7 separate regions of the Homo sapiens genome follow, and all the other regions are linked to region 1. The links are contacts of gene promoters, found by promoter capture Hi-C in blood cells and fetal thymus (Javierre and others, 2016). All regions are on one chromosome and are shown on one strand. The core of a region is centred on a gene start or on the middle of the fragment in contact, and the rest is flanking DNA. Distances in the headings are between cores, read along the strand shown.

Region 1 (2,700 bases), core at 93-2,592:
TAAAGCACCCAATGGGGGTAAAAAATGATGCTCAAAGGACATAAACAGGCATTTGTAGAAGAGGAGATGCAAATGTATACTAAACATTTGAAAAGATATTCAGCCTTACTGGTAGTCAGGAAAATGCAAATTAAAACAATAAGGAGATACTATTTTTTATTGAAAAGACTATCAAAAAGTTAAAAGATTGGGACCATCTAGTGCTATGAACATGACAAAAGAGCACTGATTGTTGCTGGGAGGGCAAATTGCCTATCTTACAGTATTTATTAAGATTAAACCATGCACATGCTATTAGATGCAGCAGTCTCATCTTTTGGAATTCATTCTGTGGAGATAACAGTATCAGAAATTAATGACCTGTACACGAGTGTGTGAAGGAGCATTTTTTGTATTGTCAAAATTAAAAAAAGAGGACAACCTAAATTACCATAAAGGAATGGTCAAATAAATTATAGTTCATTCATGCCATAGAACATTACATATGTTTTTAATGAATCTGTTTTTCTATTATCAGTGTATATTTATAGTATATTAGAAAACACAGGTAAGAAAAAAGGAAAAAGTGTCTAGTTCCAGACCCAGAGATATCATCTTGGTGTATATCAAGTGGTTTTCGTTGTGTGTGTGTGTGTGTATATATATATGTATGTATGTATGTGTATATGTGTGTATGCATGCATATATATATATGTATATATGTATACATATATATTTGTTTTTCCAATAGAAAAGGCATCATGCGTTCCACAATATGTTGTAACTCCTTGTTTTCTTCATTCCTTCATGAATATTTTTCTACATCAACACATACTTATCTACAAACATGGCCTTCAAGAACTGGATGGTATTTCATTTTATGCATACTTCATAACTCGACCAATCCCCTACTTGGCGGTATTTAAGTGAATCCAATTTCTCCTTTTAGAAACACCGTCCCTGCATGCTAGCAAGACTTTGGAGATAGTTTGCTAATTGCCTTCCAGAAAGTTCTGGGTGCTTCTGGAGGCATTTGAGGCAGAGTAGGTAGAATGTTTTCCCATCAGGCGAGCTTGCTATCTTCCCAGATAGCAACACTGTAGTCTTTAGAACTTGAAAGACTTGTCTTATCTTGCCTGTTAGTCATGCAGCCTAAGCGGGACTAGGTTCCAGAAATCCCATACATGCTCTCCCTCCTCTTGCTTCATTCACGCCCCTCCCCACGCGCCACCCCCGCCCCCCGCGCTTTCCCGCTCGGCGGCCTGGCCTATGGCATACGCCAATAATTAATTAGGGGCGGGGATCAAGGAGCGGCTGTCAGGAGGTCGCCATATTTCTGTACGGCCCAGAGGCAGCCCGGGCAGTCGCCGGGTCGGTAGAGGTGCTGACAGGGCGGAGCCGCCGCTTGCCTCAGCCGGCCTCACCCCTCCCGCCCGGGACAGGTGGCTGGAGCGCGCTCCGCCTCCGCCAGCTGCGAGTGGGAGCGAGGGAGGGCCGGTCCCGGACGGTCGCCGCCAGCTGCGAGTGGAAGTGAGCGAGGGCTAGTCCCGGACCGCCGGGCCAGGGGTCCGGCGGCAGCAGACGGGTACCGTGGCGGCCAAAAAAATGCTCCTGTACCGAGGGGCCCCCGCCGGCCCTGGCGCGCCGGGCTGCGGGCTGGCCCGGCCCGGCGGCGGCCCGCAGGCCTTCGGGATCCGCCTGAGCACGGTAGGTCCGGGGCCCGAGGGGGCGGACGCGCGCGCGGGCCCCTGGGCTGCGGGGGGCGCGCGGGGAGGGCCCGGCGGGCCGAGGCCTCACGCGGGTCGGGACCTTCTCTCGCCCCCAGATGAGCCCCCGCTACCTCCAGAGCAACTCCAGCAGCCACACGCGACCCTTCAGTGCCATCGCGGAGCTGCTAGGTGAGTGGCGAGGGCGGGCCCGGCCGTGTTCGCCCGAGGCAGTGGTGCCAGCGTGGTGCCGCGGACGCGAGAGGAATGCGCAGAGCCGCGCGGGGCGGGCCGGGGCTGGGGTGGGGGCCTCGGAACCGGCCCCGGCTCCGCAGGCGGAGGAGGGGGATGGCTCTCTCGCCAGGAACTAGGTTCCGCTCATAAAACGGAGGAAACGAGGTGTGTCTGAAGCGTTAAAGACACCAGTGTGGTTTTTCTCTCGCGCTCGTGACGTTCGGGCACTTTAGGATAGCTTAGTTAGTAATCAAAAGGAGATGCATAAAAACCTCGGGCCCTGAGGCAGCTGGGTCCGCAGGGGCTGGCGACCGACGGAGGATGCCTAGCTAGCAAAGGGGCGTAGAGGACCGAGGCGGGTCCTGGGGAAAGGTCTGGAAAGCGGAGTTCCTTAACTTTTGAGACAAGAAAAGTTAGGAATGATGGGACATCTCTTAAGAGATGACACGAGTGCATTTGGCTCCCTGCTACTGCGGAGGGCTGGGTCCGTGGTCCACGAGCGCCCTCACACCGCTGGAATGAATATTGAGGACTTAACCTCTCGCTCCACCGGTGTTTGCTTTTAAAGTGTTTTCAGTTGATCCCTTCAAGCCAATTACACCAGTTTTTGCAGTAGTGTGCTACTGTGTGGAAAGCAAAGAAGAAACGCAGTCCTGCACAAAACGCAGCAGCATACAGGGCGCATTATACATGCTTTGAAAATCGAAAGAAGGAAGAAGTGTTTATGGGCAAGGTTGCACAGAACAAACTCTTGAAAATGTTTTCAAAGCTCCCCAAATGA
Region 2 (2,700 bases), core at 141-2,640, 750 kb before region 1:
AGACTATACAAGAGAGTTCCCACTTCTACCAGGAGTTTATGATAGGCTGCGTGTAAATATGTTTGGTCCACTTCTTTCCATTCCCTGTGATACAAAACATGATTATTAGTCCTGCTTCCTCCTAGGGCTCACCTTGTGGATTTCACGAAGGCAAGCCCTGGAGAGAAGCAGAAAGACGATGAAGGTTCTGGGTCTGGTCTCCTGCCTTCTGTCTGGGTTACACCTCAGGAGCCTTGTGTGTCTTTCCTATGTTGGCCAGTCCCTTGAACAGTTTTTAGCAAAAGCCTCAAGCAGAGACAGTTGATCTTCAAACACCTCCAAGAAAGGAAATACCACAAAGTCCTTTGTTCATACATTCCAGTGTTTAACAACTTCTGCTCTCTGACATTATTCCTCCTAATTCTGTCCTCCAGCTTTCCTATGCTTAATAAATTTAATATGCTTAAATTGTAGTTATCCCATCCCTTGTCGGTCTTACTTTCCAAATTAGCTAAATCCATTTTTTTAAAGAAAAAAGTTTGAACTTTCATTTCTCCATCTTTTAGATAATGTCCAAGTTATCCACCAGAGATTTCATTCTGTCCTCTGTAACAGCTGAGATTGTGGCATGAAAACCTTTGCCCTTAGCCAGTCACCCAAATCCATCCTCTGATCAGTGACACACATTTGCAAGATAGCAGGTTAGGAAAGGAGCAAAATTAACCCATTTAGGCCTGGTGTTCCATTATTGGAACGCTAAGCTTGTGGGAGTTATTTATATCCTACTGCTCAAGGTTATCGCCAAGGTCTGATTTTTCACGAAAAAAAATTTGCAATCTCTGTCATAAATGGGTTAACTGAACTGCAGAGGACGCAATCACCTGCCCTAACCCCCAAGCTAGCTGTTTTACAGGAAACTGTAGCTGTGTAAGATTTCATTAGTGGCCAATGACCATGGAATAGAGAAGGAAGACGACTTCATAGTTCCTACAAGCTTCTTTCCTATTTAGAGCATCCAGGGTCATGCTTGTTCCTTAATGATACTAAATTGTGTGCTAGCAACTCATTGCAGCCTCTGCTCTTAGCTGCCTACCCACATAGCCCCATTCTTGTATCTGGGTAGAGTTTTGATTATTCCTATATTCATTATCCATTTTGTGGATTATCTATAGCAATCACAAAATTCCAGGCTGCCCCCCACCGACCTTCTAGCTAGTTTCTGGGAACTCTGGGGTGCAGGATCACTTTGATACCAGCCCAAGTAGTGCATAAAGAAAGTTTTTTCAAAAATAAATTACCCACTCACAAATGGATTCCAAATCCAAGTATGGCTGAGTTTCACATGGCTAGGGTAACATAGGACATGTGGCATGGATAATCCAAAATAAGAGATAATGTAGGAGAAACATCATGTCTAGCTAGCTTTGAAATTGCACCATGATAGGCCAGGCGCGGTGGCTCACGCTTGTAATCCCAGCATTTGAGAGGCCGAGGTGGGAAGATCATGAGGTCAAGAGTTCGAGACCAGCATGGCCAACATAGTGAAATCCCCGTCTCTACTAAAAATACAAAAAAAAATTAGCTAGGCGTGGTGGCACGCTTCTGTAATCCCAGCTACTCGGGAGGCTGAGACAGGAGAATCACTTGAACCTGGGAGGCGGAGGTTGCAGTGAGCCAAGATCTCACTACTGCACTCCAGCCTGGGCAACAGAGTAAGACTCCGTCTTAAAAAAAAAAAAAAAAGGAAGAAAGAAATTGCACCATGGGTCTAACTTTTTTCAGTAGATCTGCCTTCTTAATTATTTGGGCTGATATGAAAATAAGCTTGCACCCCTGGAGTATACAGAAACTAGAAGAAACTGGATGTAGGGAGAAGCTAAGCTGAGACCAAGCATTGCCACTGCTATTTCACAAAATGGAAAAGCCACCTAGAAATACTTGGGAGTTGATTTTCAAGCATACTGAAGTCATTTCTGTGTGTCTTTGAAATATGTCATATGGTTGTGGATGCTGTGGATTTGTCCATGAAGACCTAAGGGGTCTGCGTAATGGTACCTAGTTTGACTTGGGGAGACAGATCCAAGGAGTTACCAGGAAATCGATAGTTCCCTTCTTCTTCCTAACTATAACCTGATGGCTGTATCACAATGCCTGGTCTGATCGTCTGACCCATGTGAGTCTGAAAGTGGTGGCGCAATTCATCTGAGGAAAATCACATCTGAAACAGGAAGGGGCACGGCAGCCTCTTCAGCCAAGGATTTATGTATCTGTCACAGGAGGGAAGTGTGAGCTGAGAAATGACTCCCAGAAGTGCTAGAATTGGAAGAGGCAGCACTGCTACCTATCATAGTCAGCAGTGTATTCATGGGGAATCTATGCTACCTCAGGAGGCCAGCATCCTGGCCCTTCCTCCCTTCCCTGAGTCCATCCTCCCTCCTCTCTCCTCTCTGGCTCAGCAAGCACTTAAGAAAACAGAGCTGAGCTAGCCAGGTGCACCCTGTCAGTGGCCAAGCAGTAGGTAAAGGGAAGGATAGGAGAGGCTTGTACTGCTCCTGGCCTGGCATTTAGAGGCCCAGGGGACAAGTCCCAGGCCCTTGAGCCAGCCACAGTAGGCTTGCAGCTGATGCCATGTCACCATGGCTGAAGCTAGTGGCAACCTGAGTGGATGGGGCTTCTCTGGTTCCTGCAGCCCACAGAGACCAACAAATTCACTCAGTTGGG
Region 3 (2,917 bases), core at 383-2,882, 770 kb before region 1:
TAGAAAATCCTTATTAATGTTTAAAAGTTGTTTTCCTTCCGTTTTAACCACATGCAGTAACTCTCATAGCCTGATGGAAGTCCTGATAGTGCTGTGTATATACATACGAATCAGTGAGAATGGGCATGCAGCCTGTTGGTATGTAAATGGTACCTGTAAACAATTGGGTTGGGGAAGAAGTGTATTTTAAACACCATCCTTTCAATCTTGTATTATGTAACTAATAACCATAACAGATTAATAACTAACACTTCTTGAACATTCACAATGTACCTGCATAATCTAATTTAATATTTACATCAACTCTTTGGAATGGATTTATTTATTTATTTGTTTATTTATTTATTTATTTTGAGACGGAGTCTTGTTCTGTCGCCCAGGCTGGAGTGCAGTGGCACGATCTCAGCTCACTGCAGTCTCCACCTCCTGGGTTCAAGCAATTCCCCTGTCTCAGCCTCCTCAGTAGCTGGGACTACAGGCGCACGCCACCACACTCGGCTAATTTTTGTATTTTTCGTAGAGATGGGGTTTCACCATATTAGTCAGGCTGGTCTCGATCTCCTGATCTCAAATGATCCACCAGCCTCGGCCTCCCAAGGTGCTGGGATTACAGGCATGAGCCACTGCGCCCGACCAAATGGGTACTATTATCATCCATTTTCATTTTATAAAGAAGGAAATTGAGGCTTGGAAAAAATTAAGTATCTTGCCCAATGCCTCACAATGAAGAGCAGAGCCTGAATTGTCTATGAAGAAAGAATTGTTAAGAACACTCAGTAACTAAACTAATGCTAAAGAAATTCTTGTAACACTTAAGAATTGTCTATGAAGCAGAGGTAAATGTGAGCTCAGAACCTTTCCAAATGGTCAAAATGTCCTTATTAGGTAGGGAAACCAACCATCCCAGTCCTGTGACATAGGACTGCCTGTGCTCAAACTGGAACAGTCCTAGGGAAACTGGGATGGTTGGTCACCCTGTTGTTAGGGGACTTCCCCCTTGTCATTTGAATATGCTTCTAATACTGGAAAACTTAGGAGGGAGATAGAATATTCTGGGCAAACAGCAGAAGTTTCCAATTTAAATGTAGCATATGAAAAAGCTTCCCAAGTTGACATTTGAAGAGCCTTCCTTAATTTTTCTGACCTGTAAGGTATAACAACCTGTAACAGGAGCTTTGACAGTATTCGTTGTGATTGCTGTTGCTGTAACCTCAAATTTTTTTCTAAGATTTTACCCAAAACCTCTTAATCAGCTCTATTCTACCTTTGACCCCAGAGCGTACCTGGCTAGTGTGGTCTGAAATACTCTGAATCCGATTTCCCTTCCAGCTCTAAAAACCCTAGGATTCTACCTTTAAGCTTCTGACCTGGCCCCAACTGGTTCCCATATATAAATGCTCAGAAAATGATAAAAATAGCAAACATTTCTAATTGCTTTATGTGTGCTAATTCATTTAATATCCCCTATTAATATAGTAACAAAGGGGAAGGATATAGATTCAGAGATCAGGTTTTCAAGAAAAATTTGTGCAAAAAATTATTTGTGCTTCTCTAAGTGAGTCTCAGAACAAGTAATTTCATAATGTATATTCCTGGACCTGGCTTCTGAGGTGGTGGCCACTCACACGGCATGATTTGAGTGGCTGCCTGCTGCAGTGCCTAAGTTCATACTATTTAAGATTCAGTTCTCTGTCCATGTACCATCTAAAATTCCTCTCCCAGAGCACCGCTGGTATGTAGACCACACTGTGAGAAACCCTGTATTAGAGATTGCAACGCATTGTCAACTAATTTACCATTTGATTTTGAGGATGGAGTTACTCGCTGTAGAGCGGTTTTGGGTTTCTGTGTGGTTAAGCCTGTCATTCTTTGCCTTTGTGATTTTTGCTTTTGGTATCAAGCTTCAAAAGTCCTTTCATAGCCCAAAGTAATTTAAAATAACTATTTCCTGAGTGCCTAGTGGTCTGACAAAGAATAGGCATTCTTGGATTAAGGGACCTTCTCCATTAAAAGCACAAATGCATTTGCAAACTTAACATTCATGGTTTGGATACTTCATGAGAACTCAGACTGGTAAGAAACTGTGTTTTTGCTGAGGCACAGATGTGAATCACATGTGCAAGGAGACTAGTAGGTGGGGGCCGGTCCTTTCACCAATGAGTGAGCCTGGTGCCCTACCCCACATCTACTAGTGTGTGTGTGTGTGTGTGTGTGTGTGTGTGAAAGAGAAAGAGAGAGATGTATTATATGCATATATTGTACATAGTACATATATATATATAGTGGTAAAATAGATATAAAATTTGCCATTTTAACCATTTCTAAGTGTACGATTCAGTAGCATTAGGTATATTAACAATGTTGTGCAACCATTATCATTCCCAAAATTTTGTCATCATCCCAAACAAAAACTCTGTACCCATTAAAGAATAACTCACCGTTTCCCTATTTTCCCCTCCCACTACCCCCTGGTAACCTCTATTCTACTTTCTGTCTCTATGGATTTGCCTATTTAGATATTTCATATAAATTGAATCATACAATATTTTGTGTCTGATTTCTTTCACTCAACATGTTTTAAAGTTCATCCATGTTGTAGCACATATCAGTACTTCATTCTTTTTATGGCTGAATAAAATTCCATTGTATGGATATACCTCTTTTGCTTATCCATTCATCTGTCAGTGGACACTTAGGTTGTTGCCCTCTTTTGGCTATTATGAAGAATGCTGCTATGAACACTGGTGTACAAGTATCTGTTCAAGTCCCTGCTTTTAATTCTTTGGGGTATATACCTAGGAGTGGCATTGCCCAGCACCTACTTTTCAACACAATTTTGTGGTCTACTGCTCGTAGTCAACACATACGTAGGAACCTGTCATAAAATGAGCAAATGTCTCAGGGCATTCCTTGAGGA
Region 4 (2,937 bases), core at 359-2,858, 670 kb before region 1:
ATCAGTTTTTTCACTGGAGAATAGGCTAGCTAACTTGGACCTCAGAGGAGAGGACAGCTCCCTGGAGAATCTGGAAGAGGCAGGAGCGAAATTTGCTCAGTTGCAGGGATTCCCCAGGACTCCCTGGGAGTCAGGCCACACCCAGTTGCTTCTGCTGGGCTGGCGGTCTGTCTGCTCTGGAGTGGGGTGGGGTGGTGAGGTGCACACCACACACACACACACACACGCACGCACGCACGCACGCACACACGGAGGGAGGGGGGAAAGGGAGATGGGGTAGGTGAGGAAACTCACCGTCCCAGAGCTCTCTTGCCCCCTCTTCAGGCAATAAGCTCTCACTGCTGTTCCTGTCCAGGTGACCAATTTTTGCCATAGGAGGCCCTATTTTTAGACCTCAAAACCCACCACCAATGTCTGGGCTGCAAGCTCAGTGGACCAGGCTGCTGCACGGGCTGTTTTGTTTTTGTTTTCGTGGTGTTTTAAAATTTTTTACCATTTGAATCTCTTTTTTTTTTTTTTGAGATGGAGTCTCTTTCTGTCACCAGGCTGCAGTGCAGTGGCACGATCTTGGCTCACTGCAACCTCCACCTCCTGGGTTCAAGTGATTCTCCTGCCTGCCTCAGCCTCCCAAGCAGCTGGGACTACAGGCGCATGCCACCATGCCTAGCTTTTTTTTTTTTTTTTTTTTTTTTTGAGACAGAGTCTCACTCTGTTGCCCAGGCTGGAGTGCAGTGGCACGACTTCAGCTCACTGCAAGCTCCCCCTCCCAGGTTCATGCCATTCTCCTGCCTCAGCCTCCCAACTAGCTGGGACTACAGGCACCCGCCACCACGCCCAGCTAATTTTTTTTTTTTTTTTGTATTTTTAGTAGAGACGGGGTTTCACCGTGTTAGCCAGGATGGTCTTGATCTCCTGACCTCATGATCCGCCCCCCTCAGCCTCCCAAAGTGCTGGGATAACAGGCGTGAGCCACCGCGCCCAGCCTAAAAATTTTTGCCATTTGAATCATTTTTAAGTGCATAATTCAGTGACAATAAGTACATTTACATTATTCTGCAACAATTACCACTCTCCACCTCCAGAACTCTTTTCATGTTGCAAAACTCCATACCCATTAAACAATAATCCCCCCCACAAACCCGCCCCCAGAGTGAGGGTAGAGAATATACCCATTCTCCCCTCCCCCTAGCCCCTAGTAATCACCATTCTATGTTCTGTCTCTTATGAATTTGACTATTCTAGGTCCCTAATATAAGCAGAATCATGCAATATTTGTCCTTTTGTGTCTGGCTTATTCAGTTAGCATAATCTTCATGTTGTAGCATGTGCCAGAGTTTCTTTCCTTTTAAGGCTGAGTAATTGTCTACTGTATGGATATACCACATTTTGTTTATCCATTCATCCATTGATAGACACTTAAGGGTTGTTTCTACCTTTGGACTATTGTGAAGAATGCTGCTGTAAACACATTGGTGTACAAGTATCTGTCCGAGCCTCTGCTTTCAATTCTTTGGGGTATATACCTAGGAGTGGCTGTTGGGGCCGTTTGCCCATTCCCGAGGCAGCCTAGTGGTCTGGCCCCCCTCAGAAGAAAGTTGCCTTCCCAGCTTTCTGCCCCAGCTCTGCTTTGTCTCTGTGCACACAACAGCACCTCTTGGAAAAGCACCTTCTTTCACCCCACCCTACCCCCCGACCCCGTCACCAATGAGTCCCAGCACCAACTGAGTGGTGACTGGTGACTGGTGAGCCTCTCTGGGCTTCCTGTTCTATTTTTCTACCCAGTGTACTTATGGTCACATTCCCTCCCCTTGAAGACCATGTCAGTCTCTGGTTGCCCTCTTGTCAGCTCCCCAAGAGCCAGGACCACAGCCGCAATGGACTTTTAAAAGTGGGAGACAGGGCCGGGCGCTGTGGCTCACGCCTGTAATCCTAGCACTTTGGGAGGCCGAGGCGAGCTGATCACCTGAAGTCAGGAGTTTGAGACCAGCCTGGCCAACATGGTGAAACTCCATCTCTACTAAATATACAAAAATTAGCTGGGCGTGGTGGCGTGTGCCTATAATCACAGCTACCTGGGAGGCTGAGGCAGGAGAATCACTGGAACGTGGGAGGCAGAGGCTGCAGTGAGCCAAGATCATGCCACTGCACTCCAGCCTGGATGACAGAGCAAGACTCCATCTCAAAAAACAAACAAACAAAAAACTGGGAGACAGTGTGGTACAGCAGTTAAGGGCAGGGGCTCTGGAGCCAGACTGCAAGGGTTTGAATGCTGCCTTGTCTAACACCAGGCAAGCTACTTGACCTTGCCATGCCTGTGTCTCCATCTGTAAAATGGGGATAATAATAATATTTATCTCAAGTGGTTATTAGGAATTAACTGATATACACAAAGCCATCAATGCAGTACCTGGTACATAGTAACGGCTAAATAGCCAGACACAGGCACAGTGGCTCATTCCTGTAATCCCAGCACTTTGGGAGGCCGAGGCAGGTGGATCACTTGAGGTCAGGAGTTCAAGACCAGCCTGGCCAACATGGTGAAACCCTGTCTCTACTAAAAATACAAAAATTAGCCGGGCGTGGTGCTGCGCACCTGTAATCCCAGCTACTCGGGTGGCTGAGGCAGGAGAATCACTTGAACCCAGGAGGCGGAGGCTGCAGTGAGCCCAGATCGCGCCACTGCACTCTAGCCTGGGTGACAGAGCAAGACCTTGTCTCAAAAAATTAATAGCCTAAATAAATGGCAGCTGTTATTTGTTAAGTCCTCTTTCCCTTGCTGCTTCTTTGACAAAAAACATGAGGTAGATAGTGGGAGCCACCTCAGCATGTTTTTCAGGGAGGATTGCTGATGAATTTGCAGACTTCCCTCCCCACTACCCCCCTTCTCCCTGTTGATAGTCTTCTTGGGTCATTGCCCCTCCACCTGTGTGAAATGCT
Region 5 (2,700 bases), core at 163-2,662, 650 kb before region 1:
TGTGGCTCCAGGCTGCTTACAAGCGGGAAAATCTCTGCTCAGCATATTACCCAGGAGGAATGGATTGGTCAGACCTGGCTGGCCTGTTTTGTTTTATATTCAAACCCTGAATCAGAGCCACACCATGAGTGAGCTCATGGCAACTCTATGGGTGAAGCAACAAGAACCCAGCCGCAGCAGTTAGTGGACACGCCAGAGGGGGGAGGGGTGGGGACTTGGCTAAGAAGATAAAATCTTGAGCCAGTCAGAAAACAACAACAAAAAACACAATGGGGCTGAGGGAATAAGGCCTATTGTCACCCTGTACAGTTTCAGCTATTTTTGCTTCAAAATGAGCTTCCCCTTATTTTTTATAGTTGGCAGCTGAGCTATTGGAGGAATGAATATATTGGGGAAGAAAAGCTCAGGAAAGGGGAAGGATGGGGAGAGAAGTCTGACTGTCAGTGGAGAGTCTCTGGTTTTCCTTAGGGCACGGGGTGGGGGGACAGTAGACCAAGGAGTGGGCATACAGTAGCCCATGAGCAGTGAGGACTAGGGAAGGAGGAGCCACACCCACATGGGCAGGTTTCTGAGTCTCAGGCTCATTCCTGCCTCAGCCTCCCAAAGTGCTGGGATTACAGGTGTGAGCCACCGCACCCACACACTATTTTATTTATTTATTTCCTGGCTCCTAGAACTGAACACTTATTTTAAAAAATAACTTTATAGGACGGGCACGGTGGCTCACGCCTGTAATCCCAGCACTTTGGGAGGCTGAGGCAGGTGGATCACTTGAGGTCAGGAGTTCAAGACGAGCCTGACCAACATGGTGAATCCCCATCTCTACTAAAAATACAAAAATTAGCCAGGTGTGGCGGCGGGCACCTGTAATCCCAGCTTCTTAGAAGGCTGAGGCACGAGAATCACTTGAACCTGGGAGGCGGAGGTTGCAGCGAGCCGAGGTTGCACCACTGCACTCCAGCCTGGGCTAAAGTGAGACTCTGTCTTAAACCCAAACTTTAAAACTTTATAGCAACAAATAGCAGTTGAAGAGTTGTAAAGAGTCAAGTAAATGTTATAAACACAAAAAGAAATGCTCGAGCCAAGATTTTACAGAGTATCAAGCTTTATCTGCCATAATTTGGAGCACAATTTGCTTTATTCTTAAACAAGGAGTCTCAGAGTGGTAAAAAAAAAAAAAAAAAAAAAAAAATCTGCAAGAGAAAAACAAGTCTCCAAACACAGTGGAGGCAAAGCAGAGGGGGAATCTCTGGCTGTAGCACTCTTGCTTTTTAAACCACCACTGCCAAGACAGAAGCCACTTGTTTCAAACAGCAGCATCCATTCTATGTCATACCCCCTCACCTCCCTGCATTCTCAGGACCAGAGAAGAAGCTCAGCAACTCTGTAAGTTGGTGCCTCTATAAAAGATTTTTTTCATCTAAGTTGGGGCTGCTAGTCCTGGTCTTCTTTCCAGATTTGGATACCAAGTGTTTTCTGCTGAAAGTGTTAACTTGTATACTAATCGCATGTAGCCCTTAACAACCTGAAGGCATTAAAATCATAAAAAGCCTGAAATCCCAGAAAAGCATCATTTTCCTATTGCCATGCCCTCCTGCCATCTCATCCTTACTAGTTCTCAGTTGTGGGGGAGAACAAAGAGGCCTCTTAAAGGGAATCTGGTTATTGGAGGCACCTACCTTACAAAAAACTTGAAGTGAGGCTGAGGGGAGGAAGCTTTGCATTACTGCCCTGGGGACCACCACTCATAGAGATGTTGAGTAAACACATTCTGTGTGTGAAAAGCAGCCATTACATTAGGTCAGGAAACAGAGCCAGCCTCCTACCCCTGCTTTAGTCTGTACCTCCATTCTTCAGACAGGTGTTCAAGGGCAATCATGTAGCTATCACAACTAGAGTTTCTTGTCAACTGTGCTCGCTGCAACTCCACTTAGCTTTGGTGCTGCCTCCTCCTCATGCCCTGGCAGGTCTGCTCCTGCTACTATTCCCCACAGTCAAGAACTGCTTTGAGGCTAGGCACCGTGGCTCATGCCTGTAATCCCAGCACTTTGGGAGGCTGAGGCGGGTGGATCACCTGAGGTCGAGAGTCCGAGACCAGCCTGGACAACATGGTAAAACACCATCTCTACTAAAAATACAAAAATTAGCCAGCTACTTGGGAGGCTGAGGCAGGAAAATCACATGAATCCGGGAGGCGGAGGTTGCAGTAAGCCGAGATCGTGCCACTGCACTCCAGCCTGAGCAACAGAGCGATGCTCTGTCTCAAAAAACAAAAACAACAAAAACAAAAAACAACTGCTTTGAAAGGGATCAAAGTTGGGGACTGGGCCTTTTTTGAATAATCTCAAAACCTCATCCTAGGAAATGAATTACCCAAAGGGGCCCACAAGAGAGATCTTAATGTCAAAATATTCTGTAACAATGAGACCTGACCCACTGATCCAATACTTTAGGAAATAGCATGATGAGCAAGTGAAGGCATTGGTGCTTCACATCAGCTTCTCCCAGAGCAAAAATCTGAGATTAAAGAGGTCTAGAGGGTTAGAGGCGCACATTTCATAGTATACTTTAGTCCCTCCTGAATCACTTTTATCAAAGAGCTAGCTGTAAAATAGATATCCCGATATCCAACAAAAGCAAAAACAAAATAAACAAAAGTAGACCTGGGCTTCACAAATAAGGAAGCACTCTTCATGAAGC
Region 6 (2,746 bases), core at 80-2,579, 740 kb before region 1:
CAACTGGTGTTGAATAGAAACATCTCGCCCATGAAAACTAGTGGGGTGTGGGGCATGTGCCTCCAGGAGGTGCAGACTGGGCACAAAGGGCAAGAGAGGAGAGGGAGCGGCAGCGGGGTCTGGTGGCAAGAGTGCCAGGCCAGGATCCAGGAAACCTGGGCTGTGCTCCCAGCCTCTACCACCAACTCCCTTGGCGTCCTTGAGCAAGATCACCCAGAGGGCAGGGTTGGGGGAGCAGGCACAGGGCCAAGACCTTGCCTAGGAGAAGATGAGCTGCAAAATTTTGTTCATGCATTCAAGAGGTAGGGATGGGGTGTTTAACCAGGAAAACTCTCCGCTGAAAAGCTACCTAATTGCCTTTAAATGCTTTAGATGTGTCTTGACCAGCAAGGGAACCAAACTCAGGTGCCCAGGGGACATATCAGAAAAGACGGGGCTGCTTCTCCCAAAATGCCTGTCCCTTGACTTGCTTGGGAGGCCAACAGGCAGTGATCCCTGCTGCTAGGACCAAGACCAGAGGACACAGTTGTTTCTTAGCTATGGAAAGCCCTGGAATTGTCCTCACTTCTGCCCCTTGCAGCCAGCCAGGACAACTTATCTGGGATGTAGTGTTTGTTCCTGGTCGTAGGAGTTCATATGGAAAGGGCATCTCTCAGCTCACCACCCCAGGCACCCATGCATCAATATCCCAGTGTCCAGGGACCCACACGATGGCACACACTTATTCCCAGGACCTAAATTCACATCTCTTTGCTGAGCTTTCTCTGCCTGGTAGCAACAAATCTGCCATTGATCTGGCCCTGTTTTCTCAATGGGAACTCATGGGGTGCAATGGTCTTTGATAGCACAAAACACGTTGAGAAAAGCTACCAGTGTCTGACACAAAGTAGGGGCTCAATAAATTTTTGTCAAATGAATCCAGGTTGGAATCAACTCACAATACTTTCATATGAAGGACTTCATTTAATGGGAGAAAGTACAGGCTGTGCAGTAGGACCAGTTTGGGAGCAGGAAGAAGCCTGTTTGAAAAAAAAGAAAAAAAGCAGCATGGAGGCAGCCACCCTCTTTGTGCACGGAGGGAAGGTAGAATATACCCATGGTGTGTAGTGGGGAGGATGTCTGGGAAAAGGGCCAACATCCACTCCAGTCTGAGAGCCTCAGACACTTCCCAGTGCAGGAAGACCCCATGGTGGTGTCTAATTGGCTTTCTGGTTGTTCTCTTACTTAGCGAAACCCCTGTGTGACAAAGCTGGGACAGGGTTGAGCTTCCAGAATCTCTACTGGAGTTTTGAGTAGCTCCTGGTTATTTCCAACCAGGTGCCAGTTGCCAGGGAGGGCCTTGAATCTGAATAACATTGCCTGGGGGAATAAGGAGGGACTTGGCCAGGATCTTCACAAGTCATTTATACCTCAGCATGCCCCTTGTCCCCCATTGGTCCAGGGGCCCTGGGAGCCGTGGTCTGGCCTTTGCAACTTCCCTTGCTGGATTCCTGTGTTGTCTGTGCCTTCACAGCAGGGTGGGTGAGAGAGACCGGCCCAGGAGGAAAAAACAAACAAAGGAAAGGTCTCTGGGTCTGTTGACGTTATAAGTGCTATTGATTTTCCAAGATTTTTCCATTGAGAGGACAGTTAACTGACCTCGTTTTGCAGCCCATTTGGGCTTTGACGCCACTCTCTAGGCCATGAACTGAGAATTGGAGAGGCTATGACTTTATCTCAACACATACTTGATAGTCACCGCCCTCAGCAAGGCCAAATTGGGCTTCCCGGGGTGGGATGTGAGAGGATGTGGGTGGTTCCAGGCCTCTCAGCTCCTTCTACTTTTCCCCAGGGACATTGTGTGACCCTGGGCCCAAGCACTCTCAGATCTTGCTGGATCTGGTCATGCCTGGAAGGGGGCTTTTCAAGCAAGAACGGCCATAAAAATCGAGCACAGACCGAAAGACGATGGTTGGAAGAGCTCTGAACTAGGAGCTGGTGACTTGGCCTTGCATCCCAGGTGTGCCACTAATTAGCTGTGTGATTTCAGGCACTCTGTTTTCCCTCTCCTGGTCTCAGTTTTCTCGTCTGTTAAGTGATAGGTAGAGGTCCCTTCCAGTTCTAAAATCCAGCAGGCTTGTTAAGAAAAATGCAGACGTTAGGAATGAGGAGAAGAATATAAAGAAGAGAGAAAGGGACAAGATTGTAAAATTCCACGACAGCACAGAAGGGGAAAATGGGGAGAGAAAGAGAGGTGTGCTGCATTGTGGTGTAGTGGGAGTGGCCCCAAGTGGAGGCTTGGAGACCAAGATCCTGTTCCCAATTCTATCACTAATGAGCTGTGTGACCTTAGGCAGGTCACTTCCCTCCTCTGTACCTCATTCAAGTGAGAGGAATGAGTTAGCCCCTTACCACTCAGGCTGCTTTGTTGTTGGGAAAACTAGATACACACATAGCAAACAATTAGAGAACAGAATCAGTGCTCAGAGGTGTGTCATGGAAAAGAGGTACACTTGGAGAAGGGGATGGTGATGGTGGCTGGCGAGCCAAGGCCTAAAGGGCAAGGGAGCAGAGTAAAAGAGCAGAGGCTCTGGAATTACACAGGCCTGGTTAGAGTATTGGCTCTGTCCCTACCTGTCTGTGTGACCTTGGGCAAGTCATTGGCTCTACCCAAATTTCAGTTTCCTCACCCCAAAAAAGCAGGGAATTGAACTAGTTCATCTTCAGAGTTCCTTTCATCTCTTTGAATATGTAAAAAAACAAAACA
Region 7 (2,700 bases), core at 81-2,580, 620 kb before region 1:
TTTGGGAGGCCGAGGCGGGCAGATCATGAGGTCAGGAGATCGAGACCATCCTGGCTAACACGGTGAAACCCCGTCTCTACTAAAAATACAAAAAATTAGCCGGGCATGGTGGTGGATGCCTGTAGTCCCAGCTACTCAGGAGGCTGAGGCAGGAGAATGGCATGAACCCAGGAGGTGGAAGTCGCAGTGAGCTAAGATTGGGCCACTGCACTCCAGCCTGGGCGACACAGCGATATTCCGTCTCAAAAAAAAAAAAAAAAAAAAAGAAAGAAGTTCTGCTGTGGCTAAAATGTTATCAAACAGCATTTTATGCTACAGATAAATCTTTTGTGAAAGGAAGTCAATCAATGTGGCAAATTTAATTGTTGTATTTTTTAGAAAATTTTTATAGCCAACCCACCCTTTAGCAGCTGCCACCTAATCAGTCAGCAGCCCTCAGTGTTGAGGCAAGATCCTCCACCAGCAAAAAGATTACTACTTGCTAAAGGCTTAGATGATCATTAGCATTTTTTAGCAATAAAATTTTTTTGTTTGTTTGTTTTTGGTTTTGGCTTTTTTTTTTTTTTTTTTTTTGAGACAGAGTCTCACTCTGTCACCCAGGCTGGAGTGCAGTGGCATGATCTTGGCTCACTGCAACTTCCGCCTCCCGGGTTCAAGCGATTGTCATGCCTTAGCCACTTGGGTGGCTGGGATTACAGGTGCGCACCACCACTATCGGCTCATTTTTGTATTTTTAGTAGAGACAGGGTTTTGCCATGTTGACCAGGCTGGTCTCAAATTCCTGGCCTTAAGTGATCTGCCCACCTTGGCTTCCCAAAATGCTAGGATTACAGGCATGAGCCACCATGCCCAGCCTACCATAAAGTATTTTTTAATTCAGGTATTGATATGGTTTGGATATGTGTTTCCTCAAAATCACATGTTAAAATGTAATCCCCAGTTGGAAATTGTTCTGGTGAGAGATGTTTGGGTCACTGGGGTAGATCCCTCGTGAATGGCTTAGTGCTGTACTTGCAATAGTGATTGAGTTCTTTATTCTGAGTTCATGGGAGATCTGGTTGTTTTAGAGTGTGGCACTTTTCCCCTTTGTTCCCTTGCTTCTGCTCTTGCCATGTGACATGCTGGCTCCCTGTCACCTTCTGCCATGATTGGAAGCTTCCTGAGGTCCTCACCAGGAGCAGATGCCAGCACCACACTTCCTATAAAGCCTGCAGAGCTGTGAGCCAATTAAATCTCTTTTTCTTTATAAATTACCGAGACTCGGGTATTTCTTTATAGTAATGCAAAAAAACAGCCTAATATAGGCACGTACTTGTTATTTTAGACATAACGCTATTGCAGACTTAACAGACTACAGTATAGTGTAAACGTAATTTCTATATGCACTGGGAAATCAAAAAAATTCATGTGATTTGCTTTATTGCAATGTTTGATTTACTGTGGTGGTTTGGAACTGAGCCCACAATATCTCCAAGGTATGCCTGTAAATTATCATAGAAGCTTGGACTCATTAGTTTAAAACTAAACACAGGCTGGATGCAGTGGCTCACTCCTGTACTGCCAGCACTTTGGGAGGCCAAGGTGGGCGGATCACAAGGTCATAAGTTCAAGAGCAGCCTGGCCAACAGCCGGGCATGGTGGCATGCACCTGTAATCCTAGCTACTTGGGAGGCCGAGGAGAAAAATTGCTTGAATCCAGGAGGCAGAGGTTCCAGTGAGCTGAGATTGCATCACTGCACTCCAGCCTGCGTGACAGAGCAAGACTCTGTCTGGGCAGTGGGGCGGGTTGGGAACTAAACATTCCATTACGGCAAAAACTAAGTGCTGTAATCTGATTTGCTAACTGTAGAATGTAAACGTGTGTGGAAAGAATGTTATCTTTGCTCCTTATTTCTCTCTAGAAAGATAAGCACAATCAGGGTATGTGGGCAAGGAATTACTCTTTGAGAGATTTAATTTTTTATTTTTATTTATTTATTTAGTTAGTTAGTTAGTTGAGACAGAGTCTGGCTCTTGTCACCCAGGCTGGAGTGTAGTGGTGCAATCTCGGCTCACTGCAACCTCAGTCCACCTCCCAGGTTCAAGCGATTCTCCTGTCTCAGTCTCCTGAGTAGCTGAAATTACAGGCACCCATCACCATGCCCGGCTAATTTTTTGTAGTTTTAGTAGAGACAGGGTTTCGCCATGTTGGTCAGGCTGGTCTCAAACTCCTGACCTCAAGTGATCCACCCGCCTCAGCCTCCCAAAGTGCTGGGATTACAGACATGAGCCACCTCGCCGGGCAAGAGATTTAATTTAAATCTCTTTGAGGAGATTTGAATTAAAATACTTTAGGAAAAAAAAATGTCCTCAGCCAGGCATGGTGGCTCATGCCTGTAATCCTGGCACTTTGGGAGGCCGAGGCAGGTGGATCACCTAAGGTTAGGAGTTCGAGACCAGCCTTGCCAACATGGTGAAACCCCGTCTCTACTAAAAAAAAAAAAAAAAAAAAAAAAAAAACCAGAATTAGCCGGGTGTGGTGGTGCATGCCTGTAATCTCAGCTACTTGGGAGGCTGAGGCAGTAGAATTCCTTGAACCCAGGAGGTGGAGGTTGTAGTGAGCTGAGATTGTGCCACTGCACTCCAGCCTAGGCAACAAGAGCTAAACTCCGTCTCAAAAAAAAAGAAAGAAAAAAAGAAAGAAAGAAAAAGAAAAGACGG

Evidence for each region. The method cuts DNA at HindIII sites, captures the fragments that hold promoters and counts their contacts. A CHiCAGO score of 5 or more calls a contact.
Region 2: a fragment that was not itself captured here is called in contact with the fragment with the promoter of MORC4 in region 1 in 1 of 17 cell types (naive B cells); the score reaches 5.7 in naive B cells.
Region 3: a contact is called between a fragment that was not itself captured here and the fragment with the promoter of MORC4 in region 1, in 4 of 17 cell types (total B cells, naive CD4 T cells, naive CD8 T cells and 1 more). The highest score is 6.6, in total B cells.
Region 4: a contact is called between a fragment that was not itself captured here and the fragment with the promoter of MORC4 in region 1, in 1 of 17 cell types (naive CD4 T cells). The highest score is 5.1, in naive CD4 T cells.
Region 5: a fragment that was not itself captured here is called in contact with the fragment with the promoter of MORC4 in region 1 in 2 of 17 cell types (activated CD4 T cells and total B cells); the score reaches 7.5 in activated CD4 T cells.
Region 6: a fragment that was not itself captured here is called in contact with the fragment with the promoter of MORC4 in region 1 in 1 of 17 cell types (total B cells); the score reaches 6.4 in total B cells.
Region 7: a fragment that was not itself captured here is called in contact with the fragment with the promoter of MORC4 in region 1 in 1 of 17 cell types (total B cells); the score reaches 5.7 in total B cells.

What each region holds. Positions count from the first base shown.
Region 1 is chrX:106,998,854-107,001,553 of GRCh38, reverse strand. It overlaps MORC4 (MORC family CW-type zinc finger 4), which reads left to right and starts at 1,342. Exons shown (of 17, transcript NM_024657.5): 1 at 1,342-1,686; 2 at 1,805-1,877. The coding sequence starts at 1,585. RefSeq lists silencers at 1,278-1,357, 1,368-1,577. The HindIII fragment of the contact is 4,977 bases long and covers 1-2,700 here.
Region 2 is chrX:107,752,940-107,755,639 of GRCh38, reverse strand. The region is part of intron 1 of TSC22D3 (TSC22 domain family member 3); the gene reads left to right. Among named protein-coding and RNA genes, the nearest start is that of TSC22D3, 21 kb to the left of the region's middle. The HindIII fragment of the contact is 830 bases long and covers 976-1,805 here.
Region 3 is chrX:107,769,021-107,771,937 of GRCh38, reverse strand. All of the region lies in intron 1 of TSC22D3 (TSC22 domain family member 3), which reads left to right. Among named protein-coding and RNA genes, the nearest start is that of TSC22D3, 5.3 kb to the left of the region's middle. The HindIII fragment of the contact is 542 bases long and covers 1,362-1,903 here.
Region 4 is chrX:107,670,436-107,673,372 of GRCh38, reverse strand. No RefSeq gene overlaps it. Among named protein-coding and RNA genes, the nearest start is that of PRPS1, 43 kb to the right of the region's middle. RefSeq lists a silencer at 186-235. The HindIII fragment of the contact is 4,714 bases long and covers 1-2,937 here.
Region 5 is chrX:107,652,333-107,655,032 of GRCh38, reverse strand. No RefSeq gene overlaps it. Among named protein-coding and RNA genes, the nearest start is that of PRPS1, 25 kb to the right of the region's middle. The HindIII fragment of the contact is 612 bases long and covers 1,107-1,718 here.
Region 6 is chrX:107,735,872-107,738,617 of GRCh38, reverse strand. All of the region lies in intron 1 of TSC22D3 (TSC22 domain family member 3), which reads left to right. Among named protein-coding and RNA genes, the nearest start is that of TSC22D3, 39 kb to the left of the region's middle. RefSeq lists an enhancer at 1,248-1,825. The HindIII fragment of the contact is 7,191 bases long and covers 1-2,746 here.
Region 7 is chrX:107,619,106-107,621,805 of GRCh38, reverse strand. No RefSeq gene overlaps it. Among named protein-coding and RNA genes, the nearest start is that of PRPS1, 8.1 kb to the left of the region's middle. The HindIII fragment of the contact is 345 bases long and covers 1,158-1,502 here.